3 separate regions of the Homo sapiens genome follow, and regions 2 and 3 are each linked to region 1. The links are contacts of gene promoters, found by promoter capture Hi-C in blood cells and fetal thymus (Javierre and others, 2016). All regions are on one chromosome and are shown on one strand. The core of a region is centred on a gene start or on the middle of the fragment in contact, and the rest is flanking DNA. Distances in the headings are between cores, read along the strand shown.

The links. Contacts are between HindIII fragments. The CHiCAGO score rates a contact against its expected background, and 5 or more counts as called.
Region 2: a fragment that was not itself captured here is called in contact with the fragment with the promoter of SLIT3-AS1 in region 1 in 5 of 17 cell types (M2 macrophages, M0 macrophages, endothelial precursors and 2 more); the score reaches 10.4 in M2 macrophages.
Region 3: a fragment that was not itself captured here is called in contact with the fragment with the promoter of SLIT3-AS1 in region 1 in 4 of 17 cell types (M2 macrophages, M0 macrophages, M1 macrophages and 1 more); the score reaches 8.6 in M2 macrophages.

What each region holds. Positions count from the first base shown.
Region 1 is chr5:169,010,905-169,015,022 of GRCh38, reverse strand. SLIT3-AS1 (SLIT3 antisense RNA 1) reads right to left here and starts at 1,796. Exons shown (of 5, transcript NR_109897.1): 1 at 1,639-1,796. All of the region lies in intron 4 of SLIT3 (slit guidance ligand 3), which reads left to right. The HindIII fragment of the contact is 2,662 bases long and covers 961-3,622 here.
Region 2 is chr5:169,561,583-169,565,700 of GRCh38, reverse strand. All of the region lies in intron 2 of LOC105377714 (a long non-coding RNA gene), which reads left to right. LOC105377715 (a long non-coding RNA gene) reads right to left here. Exons shown (of 4, transcript XR_941204.3): 4 at 3,979-4,118. Among named protein-coding and RNA genes, the nearest start is that of SPDL1, 20 kb to the left of the region's middle. The HindIII fragment of the contact is 1,472 bases long and covers 941-2,412 here.
Region 3 is chr5:169,543,999-169,548,116 of GRCh38, reverse strand. All of the region lies in intron 2 of LOC105377714 (a long non-coding RNA gene), which reads left to right. The region is part of intron 3 of LOC105377715 (a long non-coding RNA gene); the gene reads right to left. Among named protein-coding and RNA genes, the nearest start is that of SPDL1, 38 kb to the left of the region's middle. The HindIII fragment of the contact is 1,434 bases long and covers 1,243-2,676 here.

The DNA.
Region 1 (4,118 bases), core at 547-3,046:
CAAGTTTGGTTCTGTAATCTACAAGGTCATTATTGCCACCTTCTGAGGTTGCATTTTTATTTTTATTTTTTTGAGATGGAGTCTCGCTCTGTCACCCAGGCTGGAATGCAGTGGCATGATATCAGCTCACTGCAACCTCTGCCTCCCGAGTTCAAGTAATTCTCCTGTCTCAGCCTCCTGAGTAGCTGAGACTACAGGCATGTGCCACCACGCCTAACTAATTTTTGTATTTTTAGTAGAGACAGGGTTTCACCATATTGGTCAGGCTGGTCTCAAACTCCTGACCTCAGATGATCCACCTGCCTTGGCCTCCCAAAGTGCTGGGATTAAAAGAATGAACCACTGCACCAGCATGAGGTTGCTTCTTAATGCTCCTACACTCAGGGCTAGCTCACCTTCTCTGCCCTATTTTCCTTCCTTCTCTTCATTCCTGTGTGCAAAAGGCACTGTTTTCCAGCTCAGAGGAGCGAAGGAAAGTGTGTGTGTCTGTGTGGAGGAAGCCGGCTTGACGTTGGTCTTGACCTGTCTAAGTCTATCCTAGGCTTCAGCCAAAGAAAAGCCCTGGCTGTGGCTATTCTTTCTCTTCTCCACCTCACCATCCTCTCCCCCACCAGTACTTCAGGTTTCCTGGCTCTCATCAAATTTGTACTGACTTTCCACTCCATGGACTTAGGTATTCAGGACCTGGCCAATTTTGGTTCAGAAAATTTTCTGGATATATATAGCTGGAGAGAGAGAATAAGAATACATGTATAATGTATAAAGGCAGGTGATACTACCAGATAAAATTATCTTCTTGAGTGATTCAGTCCCTTTGTATCATGCCACAAAGATTATGTTCACTCCATGAGTGTGTCATAAAGCTTTGAGATATCAAGAGTGAAAACATAACCAACCTGCCTGCCTGCCTGCCTGCCTGCCTGCCTTCCTTCCCACAAAACATTCTGTATTGTGCAAGCTTCTCTGTAATACCAGGCAGGCAGACCTCAAAGTTTTTGCGAGGCATTTTATGACTTTTATCCTTCTCCCTCATCCACTCAGTGCAATAACTATCACACACAGGAACTATAGCATGAACAAGACAGGCAGTCTCTCTTCTCAGGGAACCAACAGCCTAGAGGCCTGCAAGCCAGAGCAAGTATGCAGATCTATAAACCAGGCACTTTAGAGTAAGTGGCATGAGAAAATACGACAATGTGAGGAAGAAGGAAGAGGTAAGTAACTGTAGGTTTGGAGGGCAGGTGAATGAATATTTGAGCAGAGACCTGAAGGAGTAGGAGCCAGGCCTGCTCAAAATACATTTGTCTTTCGAGGAGCTGCATGGGGCCCCGGCTGCCCTGGGCCACCTATTTAGCCCGGGTTTAATTCCACATGAGCCTTCATCTCAGAACGGGCGTAAGAGGCAGAGGTCAAGCAGCTGCTGAAAGTGGAGTAACCCAATCTTGGGCACAAGTTGGCCTTTAATAAGCATCCAGGTAGCCCTTTGAAAAACGAAACCTGTGGTCAGGTCTCTGAGAGCAGAAGGATCGGGTTTCAGTTTTAATTACAAAACCAAAGAGCTGTCCCATTTTGCTCCATTTCGGCTTCCCCCAGAAGAGGTTTTCCTGTCTCCCATCCTGGGGGCCCTGACGTGCTTACCTGACACAGAGATGGGCTGCTCTAGGTGCAGCACACGGAGCTTGAGTTGGCCAGGCTTGCGAAATGGTAGGATGGAAGCAGAGGCCCCAGATGGGATGTGAGAGCGGGTGATGAAAAGCATGTGGGAGGTGAGGACTGGGTTTGGGGGTTGTTGGAGTTCACATTTGTGGGCTATGGCTCAGATTATGACATCACAGAAGGATGGGACAACTTTGAAGCCCAGGAGAATGTGCGTGTCTTTTCTTCTCCCTTGTCCCCTGCACCTGGCAGAACCTCTGCTCAATGGAAGATAAAGCGATAAGATGGGGATGTGGCCAGTGCTAGTAAAAGACCCCTTTTAATCGCTCACATTTTTGGCACTTGCTATGTGCTAGACACTGGATTAAGCAGCTAACCTGCATTATTTTGCTTAACTCGGTCAGTGTTTCATACAGCAGATAGTAGCGCTATTCTCATTTGATAGACGCAGAAAGTGAGCCTCAGAGAGGTTAGATAAGTGGCCCAGGCTCCTCCGTGAGTAGGTAATGGCCGGGGTTCATCCCAGGTCTGACTGAAGAGTCCATATTCTTTACATCTTTGCCTCACTGCCTCTTCATGTAAGCTCTGGACCTGCCATCATAAGACAAATGGGAAGAGGTGTCCTACCTTCCTAAAGGCATTTTCCAAAGTGATTTCTGAAGATATCTGATATGGGCAACTTTCCAGAATTAGTTCAGTTGTTAAAGGTTTCACGGATGAATAAATGGTGTGGGGGATGGGGGTTGAGAAGAGGTCAGAAGGAGAGACAGCGTGGAGAATGATTTCCAAGGCTGGATCTTTTCTTTATTTGATTCTAGTAAATTTTAACGAGGCCCTTAATAAAATCCCAGTGCTTAGCAGAGCCTCCACATTTACAAGTTGCCAGACCTGGGGCGGAAGAAGGGAAGTTGGAATCCTGGCGCTCAGCTTAGTCCTGCTGACCTTTCACAGTTCAGGCGAGCCAGGCTTGTAAGATTGAGCACTGCACTCTGAGCAGAGCACTCCTGCCCAGATCAAGTGGCCAGAATCCTCACCCCAACACAAGGCTGGTCCCATCTCCTTCGAGGTGGCATCCTTCAACGGGCACACCTGAAGTGGATGGCTGCCAGTTGGTGAGACACTGGAAGGAAATACACACAGTTATCACAGGTCAGCAGAGCTTCATGCCATTTTGCTTCAGGATTATTACAAAATAAAGTCTTCTAGGCAATCATCAAAATCCTCATCTCCCAATCTATAAGATGCCCTTTCCTGTACCCCCGAAAAATGGCTTTCATCAACAATGAAGAGTTATCATTTGTATTTGCTATTTAGTAGATAATAAATAATGTTTATAACATATCAAGTTATAAAGAATAAAAAATGACAATAAAAGTGGTTCCTACCTTCTAACACCTAGTTAAACCAAAAAAAAAAAAAAGCAAGAAAGAATATTACTCTGTTTTTGAAGTCCCCTATGTTGAATGAATAAATGATATTTTTATCAAAGTGGGCAGTGCTATACAGGGGGCTTCCCCAGAATCATACTCTTTATTTCCTACAAGATTCATACTTAACAACAACAAAAGTACCAGCTTTTGTAATAGCAAAAACAGCTGCAGCACATTTGCTGACAATAACATCGGGTTACTTTTCAAGTGTGGTTGAGTGTTTTCCCTTCCCTTTGACCTGATGTCCATAAGTAAAGATTTTAGGATGTGTAAAACCCTGAGCTCTGACAGAGCAGGCCCCTCCTCTCCCCCAGCAAATGACTGTCTTGAGTGTGCTGGGCAGTGCATTCCTCAGCCTTCCTCCTCGGGGGTCTACAAGGGACCTCTGATAGTCTGGCCTCATTCTTTGCACGGCTCTCTTCTCCATAAATCACCTCCATAAATCCACACTGTCCTCATTGAGCCGCGGAGGAATGAAGCCATCTTCCTATTTGTAGATGGGTGTCACCTGGCCTGGAAGATGATAAACCAAAGCTTTAGTAGCTAGACCTATTACAATTTTGCCTAGAAGCCACAAGCAGTGGAGACTTACTATGGTCACCTCTCCAAATTAAATCTTTTCATAGTTCTGGCTTTTTTACACACTGGAGAGTGGTAATGTGGAGTCGGACACGCCAAAAACTCCAGGGTTCACAAAGGCTTCTAAGAGCCATTTTGGAACAGAACTCGGTGATGTCATTTCTGGGATGCTGGAGCCTGGGCCAGGCTGGGACTCAGAAGCAATTCAGGGTCCAGGAGCAGAGCTGGACTGGAGGCTGAAGCAGGTGTTGGTTATAGCTTCGGCCCTTATAGACTTAGAGTCTTCAGTGGGCTTAGCTTCCCTGAGCCCTGCTCTTCTTTCTGGAAATAATTAGACCCACATTTCTCATCTCAGTAGGTTATGGGAAGAATCAGATGACATAGTCCATGTGAAGGGGCTTCATACTGTAAAGCACTCTAAAAATAAAAGGCTTTTTTTTTTTTTTTTGGAAA
Region 2 (4,118 bases), core at 427-2,926, 550 kb before region 1:
GCCGAGACCACACCGTTGCACTCCAGCCTGGGCCACAAGAACCAAACTCCATCTCAATGTATATATGAATGATTAAAAAACACTTAGAAAATTTTAAACCTTTTTACATATTAAAGAAACGTGAATTAAAAGAGTAATGAGAATTCTCACTGCTGGTTTGGCAAAAATTAATGTCTAGAATGGGAAAATAGACCTTCCTTTACCCAAAAACAGGCAATTCCTACATGGCTTTGAACAAGCTTTCTAAAGAGCAGCTTGAAATTAATTGTCAAAATTTAAAGTGTGGATATCCTTTGGCCCAACAATTATATTTGAGGGAATGTATCCTTAGGACATTATTTGACAAGATGTATTTTCAAGGATATTAATGGATGGGCCATTTATCAAATCAAATATTTTAAGATAATTTGAATATCTACCAATTCAAGATTAATAAAATTAGTTGACATATTTCCATACAATAAAACTGGCTGACATTTATAGAGCTCTATTATTTGCCTGTCACTCTACTAAGTGCATTACAAGGATTAACTAGCTTAATTTGCACAACAATCCTGTACATAGATAGTATTATTATCTCATCTTAAATATGACAAAATTGAACCACAAAGAAGTTATGCAGCTGATAAGTGGTCACGTTAGGGGTGACACCCAGATGGTCTGGGGTGATCTGTGTTCTTAACAATGATACTTCATAATGGGATATAACACAGCAACCATATGCAGAGGGAACGAGGATATATTCGGTAGATGAAAGCAGATTTCAGAAGAACTTAGCATAGTTACGGAAAGAACAGAGTGGAGAAAGGAAGAAAATGTGCAGAACGCTTACAAAAAATGTTTTGAAGGGAATATACCAAATATGTAGGGAGTTACTTTTAGATGACTTTCACTTTCTTTTTATGATTCCCTACAATCAAAAATTCTTGTTAAATAAGCTTATATTTCTTTTACAATTAGAAAATATATTTTTTGAAAATCAGCCAACTGCTAGCCTTAATGTATTTTGGCAAACATTGAGGCAGTCTTTCCTGTTTGACTCAGTTGGTACTGGTTTTTCCTGCTAACATTTCCTATAAGCCAGTGCCTTCAAAAATCTCAGTTACTCAATAGTTTAATGTTGGCTCTATGTCCGTATTTTAGTCAAACCCTACCTAGATAACTATCCTGGGAGGTGTAATGAAGGAGATGTGTAGGGATATGAAGATATAATACAGAAATTATTGTGGTAGACATGGTTTCTTGGCTGACCCAAAAACCATAGAAAAGACTGGGATTTCCACAATTCAGGCTGGAGAAGCAAAGTCATAGGCACTTTGGACCTAGAGTTGGTCATATGACACATGAAACCAAAGGAGTTGGCTGCTGCAGGAGCTTCTATAAAATACTTTTTTTTTTCCCCATATAGAAAGATAAACCTGGATGGCACTCCTCCTGCCTCTACTAATCTTCCAGCTCTTCAGTCAGTCATGAGGATATGATTTTTGCAGTTGCGGCAGCCAGTTTGTGAACTTGAGGTGACAAGATAAGGGAAAGATCAAGGGATAGGCAAGGAATAGGCAAGGGATATGCTGACCCTAACATTGTGATGCTGCTGAGCAAAAGCCAGCTAAAGTCTACCTCCAGGCTGCTTGTTACGAGAGAAAAATAAAGCCTTATTTGTTGAAGCCACTGTTTACTTTCTCATTAGTTGCAGCCATGCATATGCCCAATGGATACAGTGCTCAAAATGCTCAGATATTACTCTTTCTTGAATTCAAGCAAATGTTTTATATCTTCCCTTGCAAGGAAATATTGTTTGAATCATTTTTAGGAAATCTAAAAGACTAAAATTCAAATTTAGAGTTCATCTGTTTAACTTTTTTTGACATGCAAAAATTAGTATTTAGGGAGAATAAAGGATTGCCACAGGGTTATAAGACTAGTGGTTATTTTCTCAACAGCAAAATTTTGCATGAGGACACCTTCAGGTGGCTATTTGTGTTGTCTACAAGTCATAAGCCATAAGAGTTATGGTATATGATGTACAAGATGATGGATAAGAACATTCCACAGCATCTCAATAGATAAACTTACTGACAAGAAATATGTCTGCTCCTTACCCTGAGCATGGGAACTGCTGGCTGATGGATTCACAGAAGATATGAGTGTAAGAATGCTTGCCTGGGTGTTCTGGTAGCTGTTCTTCATCATAAGCACTTAAGGAGTCATTTTGTTGGATGATTTTGGTCACTGATAGAGGCTGAGATATGCAAGTCGATGGCAGTCAACAAAGCAATGACCTCATTATTTTTGTCTAAAAGGCCAGCTCAATCCCTGCTGGAACATCTTTTTGGGATTTCTATATCACTTATAGCTAATGGGTCTAGCTTTGCCACTTACATTTTTAAAATGTCATTTTAGAATGAAGCTTAAAAAGGAAGTGGGAGGTAGCTGAGGGTATAATATAGAACCCTATCCACCAGGTGTGTATTCTAATCACTTCATTTAAATGTGCATGAAGGAGCCACATCATAAAATGACCTGAAAAATTAGACCATAGAGCTATATCCTAAACACTGGTGATTCAGGTCTCAGCTCATAAGTTACCTTCATTGGCACATTCCCTGATCTCTCAATCTGATGCAGTCCCACAGTCGCTCTATGACATCACCTATTTTAGTTTCTTCTTGGCTTTTACCATCATCTGGTGATTGTTTTATCGATTCTGTTCTTTGCTCATTGTCTCTCTCCCCTCTAGCACTTGAGAGGTAGCAGGACCCACTTTGTCTTGCTTGCTGTAGCATTCTGAGTGAAGATGTCAGGCCCCAGACTAGAAGTTCCATAAATGTTTGTGGAATGCACAAAAGATGATCATGATATTCTCTGTGACAACTTTGGCTACTTAGGTGACTACGTTGTCTTTTAAGGGTGGGAGGGATGATAGATTACCTCTCTTCATTTTCATTGGTATGTCAGACAAGCACTTGTGCACCTTAGTCCAAAGAGTTACAATATAATTATGTAAAAAAATGTGGGAGCGATTAGAATTGGCACATGCCTCAATCACAAATTCATATTTGCCCATGTGCATGTATGTGTGTGTGTTTATGTACATATACAGCTCAGGTTAATTTGTTTTTGCCTGAGTGGCCAGTGGTCTTGTTTACTGAGAAAAAGATATATATTTAAATTGTACCAGAATTTTATAGATATTTTCACATTTCACTGAGTAATATGTTATACAGATATTTTCACATTTCACTGAGTAATATGTTATACAGATATTTTCACAACCTACAATTGATCCTGTGCTCTACGCATGCATATGTATTGGTCGGTGAGCCCAATATAAAATGCACTGGAAACAAGGCAAGCATTAGCCTAGCTTAGGAAACCTGCAGCACGATTGATTGGAAGGAAACCTAGGCATATATGCAACCACTACATAACTAGAAGAAGAGCTTGACACTGAGCCCAAGAGAAAAGAGCCCATAGAGAGCCCCAGAGCTCCCCACCCCACTCTCAGGATAGAAAGTCATGTGGGACGTGGTGTAGAAAGAGCCTTATTCCGCTCCAAAGAGCAGCTAAGCTGCCAGCAAACTAAACTTTAGGAGTAAGATAAAAACATTAATTACAGATGTCAAGATTAGAGTTTGCTTTTTCTGCAAATTCCATGGGGTCTCTAAGCAACTTGATCTTTGAATCCCTGGGGTACTAAAAATCTACAGAGAAGAGATTGTTATCTTAATGTTGCAAAATCCCCACCTTGAGTGCTGCCAAGTAAAAATCCAGCTTAATGACACAAAGTAGAAGGAATATTTCTTGTCTTTTCTTTCTTTAAAAGAGGACTGACATTCAAACACAATTTAAGCTGACAATTATAACTGTAAAATTCTTCCAAAATTCTATGAGTATACAAAGTGCCTTGCCTGAGCTTAAGGAAACAACTATGTAATCACTAAAATTGGATTTTGATTTTAGAAAGCCTTTCTACATACTACTTTTAAAATGTATCAGTCAACTTAAAAATGTTTGTTACCCCGACAGAGAGGCACTTCCCAGAAGAAGAACTTGACTGCTGGAAGGCAAAAAGCTGAGCCCTCATTATTTGATATTCATAAATGTGAAGTCACCTT
Region 3 (4,118 bases), core at 710-3,209, 530 kb before region 1:
ATGAAAGAAAAATAATATAAATATTGTAGGAAATTCTGCCTGTTATTTCACTCAATGAATTTGTGCCTCGGAGTAATTGTACCTACTGTCTGTCTCTCAGCCTTAAGCCCAGGCTTTTATACTCTGCTCTGTGACACTGGAGGCAGGAATCTGCAGACTGCATTTCCCAGACTTTTTTGCTATCTAGCTTCTGGTTAGGTTCTGCCGACTGGAGGCACTGGCAGGAAATCAGAGGGTGATAGGAGGGTAGAAGGATGCTCTTTCTGTTTTCAGTTCTGGTCGAAGTCCTTCCATCAGTAGCACTCAAGTAGGACTCCAGCTTATTTTAGCATTTCCAGCATTAGTTCCACAGTGGCTCCTTCAGAGGTACCAGTAGGAACTGCCACGTTCCCTCTTAGCACTCACCACTGGAGTCCAAGTAGCAATCACGTGACATCTCCTCAGAGGTTGCTGAGCCAGCTGTGCAGTGACACATTGGTGGTTGGAAAATCTGCTCTGTGGAGACCCTTCCCCCAAGAAATGGTGTCCTGGTAACACTATTTACTCTTTTTTAATCTTCCAGCCCTAAGAATCCTAGCTGCTTTCTATACTACAAATACCAGAGGTACCTGAACACCATTTTTTGTTTGTTTTTTTTTCTTTTTCTCTTTCAGCCCTCCAGACTCTGTATAACTGATCTCCTATATTAAATCACCTCTGTTTGAAACACTTGGCATGATTTCTGTTTCTGTTTTCCTGATGGGATCCTGACTGCAGTAAGAATGAGATGAGAGGCCAGGAACACGCCTGTAACCTCAGCACTTTGGGAGGCTGAGGCAGGTGGATCAGTTGAGGTCAGGAGTTTGAGACGAGCCTGGCCAACATGGTGAAACCCTATCTCTACTAAAAATACAAAAATTAGCCAGGTGTGGTGGCATGCACCTGTAGTCCCAGCTACTAGGGAGACAGGCAGGAGAATTGCTGGAACCCAGAAGGCGGAAGTTGCAGTGAGCCAAGATCGCGCCACTGCACTGTATCCAGCCTGGGCAACAGAGTGAGACTCCATCTCAAAAGAAAAAGAAAAAAAAAAAAGCATGAGATGAGAGACAGCAATGTTCTCTTTTCTTATCCAGTATCACACTTTGTGTACCTTTCATGGTTGAGACATCTCGTAACACTCATGTTTATATTTATATTTTCAAACAATATAAGCCTACTCACCAGCCAACTGGTTGTCAACCAAAACCAGTAGAATGTAAAGCTTCATAAAAATAAAGGATTTAATGATACACTGGCCTGTTCCAGCACTGAGAGAAAACTGGCCATGTTGGACTTAATGACCCATGGTTGTCAAATTGCCCCTTTCTAAGAAATTTCCAAGGATGATTTGGCCAGATAAGACTTTTGCCTTATATTGCTTTATAAACTGAAACTTTAATAACGATGTTTCCATAGCATACTCTTGCAAAGATGAGCAAGACCAGAGTTATTTCCTTCAAAAGCTCTCCAACTAGTAGAAGACATAAGGCATGTGCAAACAGAAAATGCATGGCAACATTTGATGGGAGCAAAACACACAAGGACCAACCCATTTGTCACCAGTTAGTAGTGAGAGTTTACGAAATAGGTTGGAAGAGGAGGAAAACATGATGCACTGGTTCTGCTACAGACTTCATTCACTGGCTTGCTCAGAGCAAGAAATGATCATTATTTCAATTTTAAAGACCTATTTGGAAGAAGATGCTTGCCTGATCATGAACCGTTGCTTAATATATAACTTGTCTTCTCCAGGTATATGTCAATGCCATTTTATTTTATTTTTCTCAATGGCCATGGAGAATACAGGTTTACTTCTTCAAGGACTCTCAATAATACACTCTTTAAAGGTTTAATACATTCGTGTTAATTTTTTGTTTTGTGCTGGGTTTCTTTTTCAGTGTGTTTATTTCCTTTCCTCTTCCTAGAAAACGTGATTATATTCCTTAGTTCCAAGTTCTATCAGCCCTAATTCTTCATGTCTCGCTTCTGGAGTTGATGAAATAATCACTCTCTTTTTAGCATAGAACACCAGCATAAGAAAGGCAAGAAAAGGGACCTTCCAGCTATAGTGCTGGGACCATCAGTCCATGGGAGCTTTTGAATCTCAGTATGTTTCATCTTACCAGGTCATCCACCTCTGAAGGTGGTGACTCACTAGGGTGAGAGATGACTTACTGATGAGGCTGTCTTCACAAGTTCTCATTTGAAGTGGCTTTTGAAGAATAAGGAGTAGATGTGGGAGGGGATTAGCAGTCAACTCTTTTCTTCCATTATTAAATATTTTGGAATTCAGCACTTTTTAAAATATATATTTGCCTAAAATTCTTAAGGATTCATTTAAAAGAGAGGAGCAAGAAGAAAAGAAAGAAGTTTGAAGCTGAAGAGAAAATACTTGTTGCCCTTTTTCCTCATGGTTTGAGCTTATTTGAACAGTTTTTGTCCTGCCATGTGACTTAGCTTAAGGAATTTTTTGCTGGTTTAGGACAGTAATGGGGATGTAGAACAAATTTTCCCTGAAAATGCCCCTCCTATTTCTTTGAACTATATCAAAGTACACTCCATCCATAATTCTATGCATTTATTTCCTCTTTTCATGGCAACTCGTTCCAGATGAATGTGACAACCTGATAGGTACCAATACAATGGAAGTAATAAGCTTATTTAAAACGGATTTTACTTTTCCCTAAAACAAAATATCTATGTAACTATAGCTTGCTAAGTAGAATGCAAAGCTTTTTTTTTTTTTGTAAAATGAAGGATCTAATGAGATACTGATATGTTTTGAATATTGGTCCATGAGATTGCTGGAAGAACTTGGCTGCCTTACAACATTACGTTATAGACAAACTTCAGCATGGAGTAATATAATTCATATACACCTTAATGGGAACCTCCTGGCTCTGACTCACAGCAAGAAATAAAGCCAAATACTCCAATCTGTGGTGCTTATTCAAGTTTCTGCATTTAAATCTGGAGTCATATTTAGTTTGTATTTATTTTCTGAAGTGAATGATATTGTGGTGGCCAGGATTCCAGGTATGATTAGGGGATGCCTCACCTTACAAAAAAGGTCAATATTAGATTTTCAGAAGGTAAGCGAGAAGAGAGACTTCATTTTCAGACAGAAAAGACATGGGCAAGAGCCCATAGACAGCAATCCAATGGGGGAGTTTAGCTTTATTTGAAAGTCATCTAAGCAGGGTGTGTGAAGGAGGCAAATGTGAGGTTATAAAAAAAAAAAGCAAAAAATAATTAAGAAGGCTAAATCTTAGCTTGCAGCACCTAGAATATAACTATCTAAAAGAATTGCAGATTTGCCATCAATTAAATAAAAATGTCAAGTCAGCTGTTGTTATCATTTGGGTTAGACAATTGGTTGATTAGTCATTTTGCTATCTTATAAAATGAAACTGGGAGAAAAAGTTTAATGTTAGTCATATCTATGTAATATGGTTAAATTGCTTTAGGACAATGAAATTAATATGCTTTACTATCCCCACAACTGATTGTGTTAAGGGTCGTTTGATCCACAGTGATGCAGCAAAATTCTGTTTTTGAGACAGGCCTCCATGGCTGGTTCAACTGTAGTCATTTTAGTTGTGAAAACACAGTTTCAGTCTCCATGACCTAACTAATACACATGGTTGAGGCAATTGTCCGAGTACTCTAATTCAGAGAAAACATTGGCTTTTCTGGAAATTACCTGGGTCATCTGACATGTGTTTTGCTTAAACTAGTTCAATAATTTTTCCAATTCTCTACTTTGGCCAGAAAGATACAATCTACAATGCCTGGACACAAAATATAAACTATATATGGGGAATTTTCTTAACTATAGGGCTTTAAATAGTTTTTTTTTTTTTTCTGAGCTGACAGGTGCAGTCTCACCTGAAAGTAGAAAAAAAATAGTTGATGTAGTTCTATGTTGCATTGAGGGTGCAGTGGGATGAAACAACAGAGATGTGTAGCTCCTCTGAATCAGGAACCAGAATGCCAGAACAGTAGCTTCGCAGTGAGACTTACAGATACGAGATCTTCCATACCAATGGTTTTCAAACGTTTCACTAACCATTCTATTCAATAATCAGGATTTCACTAAT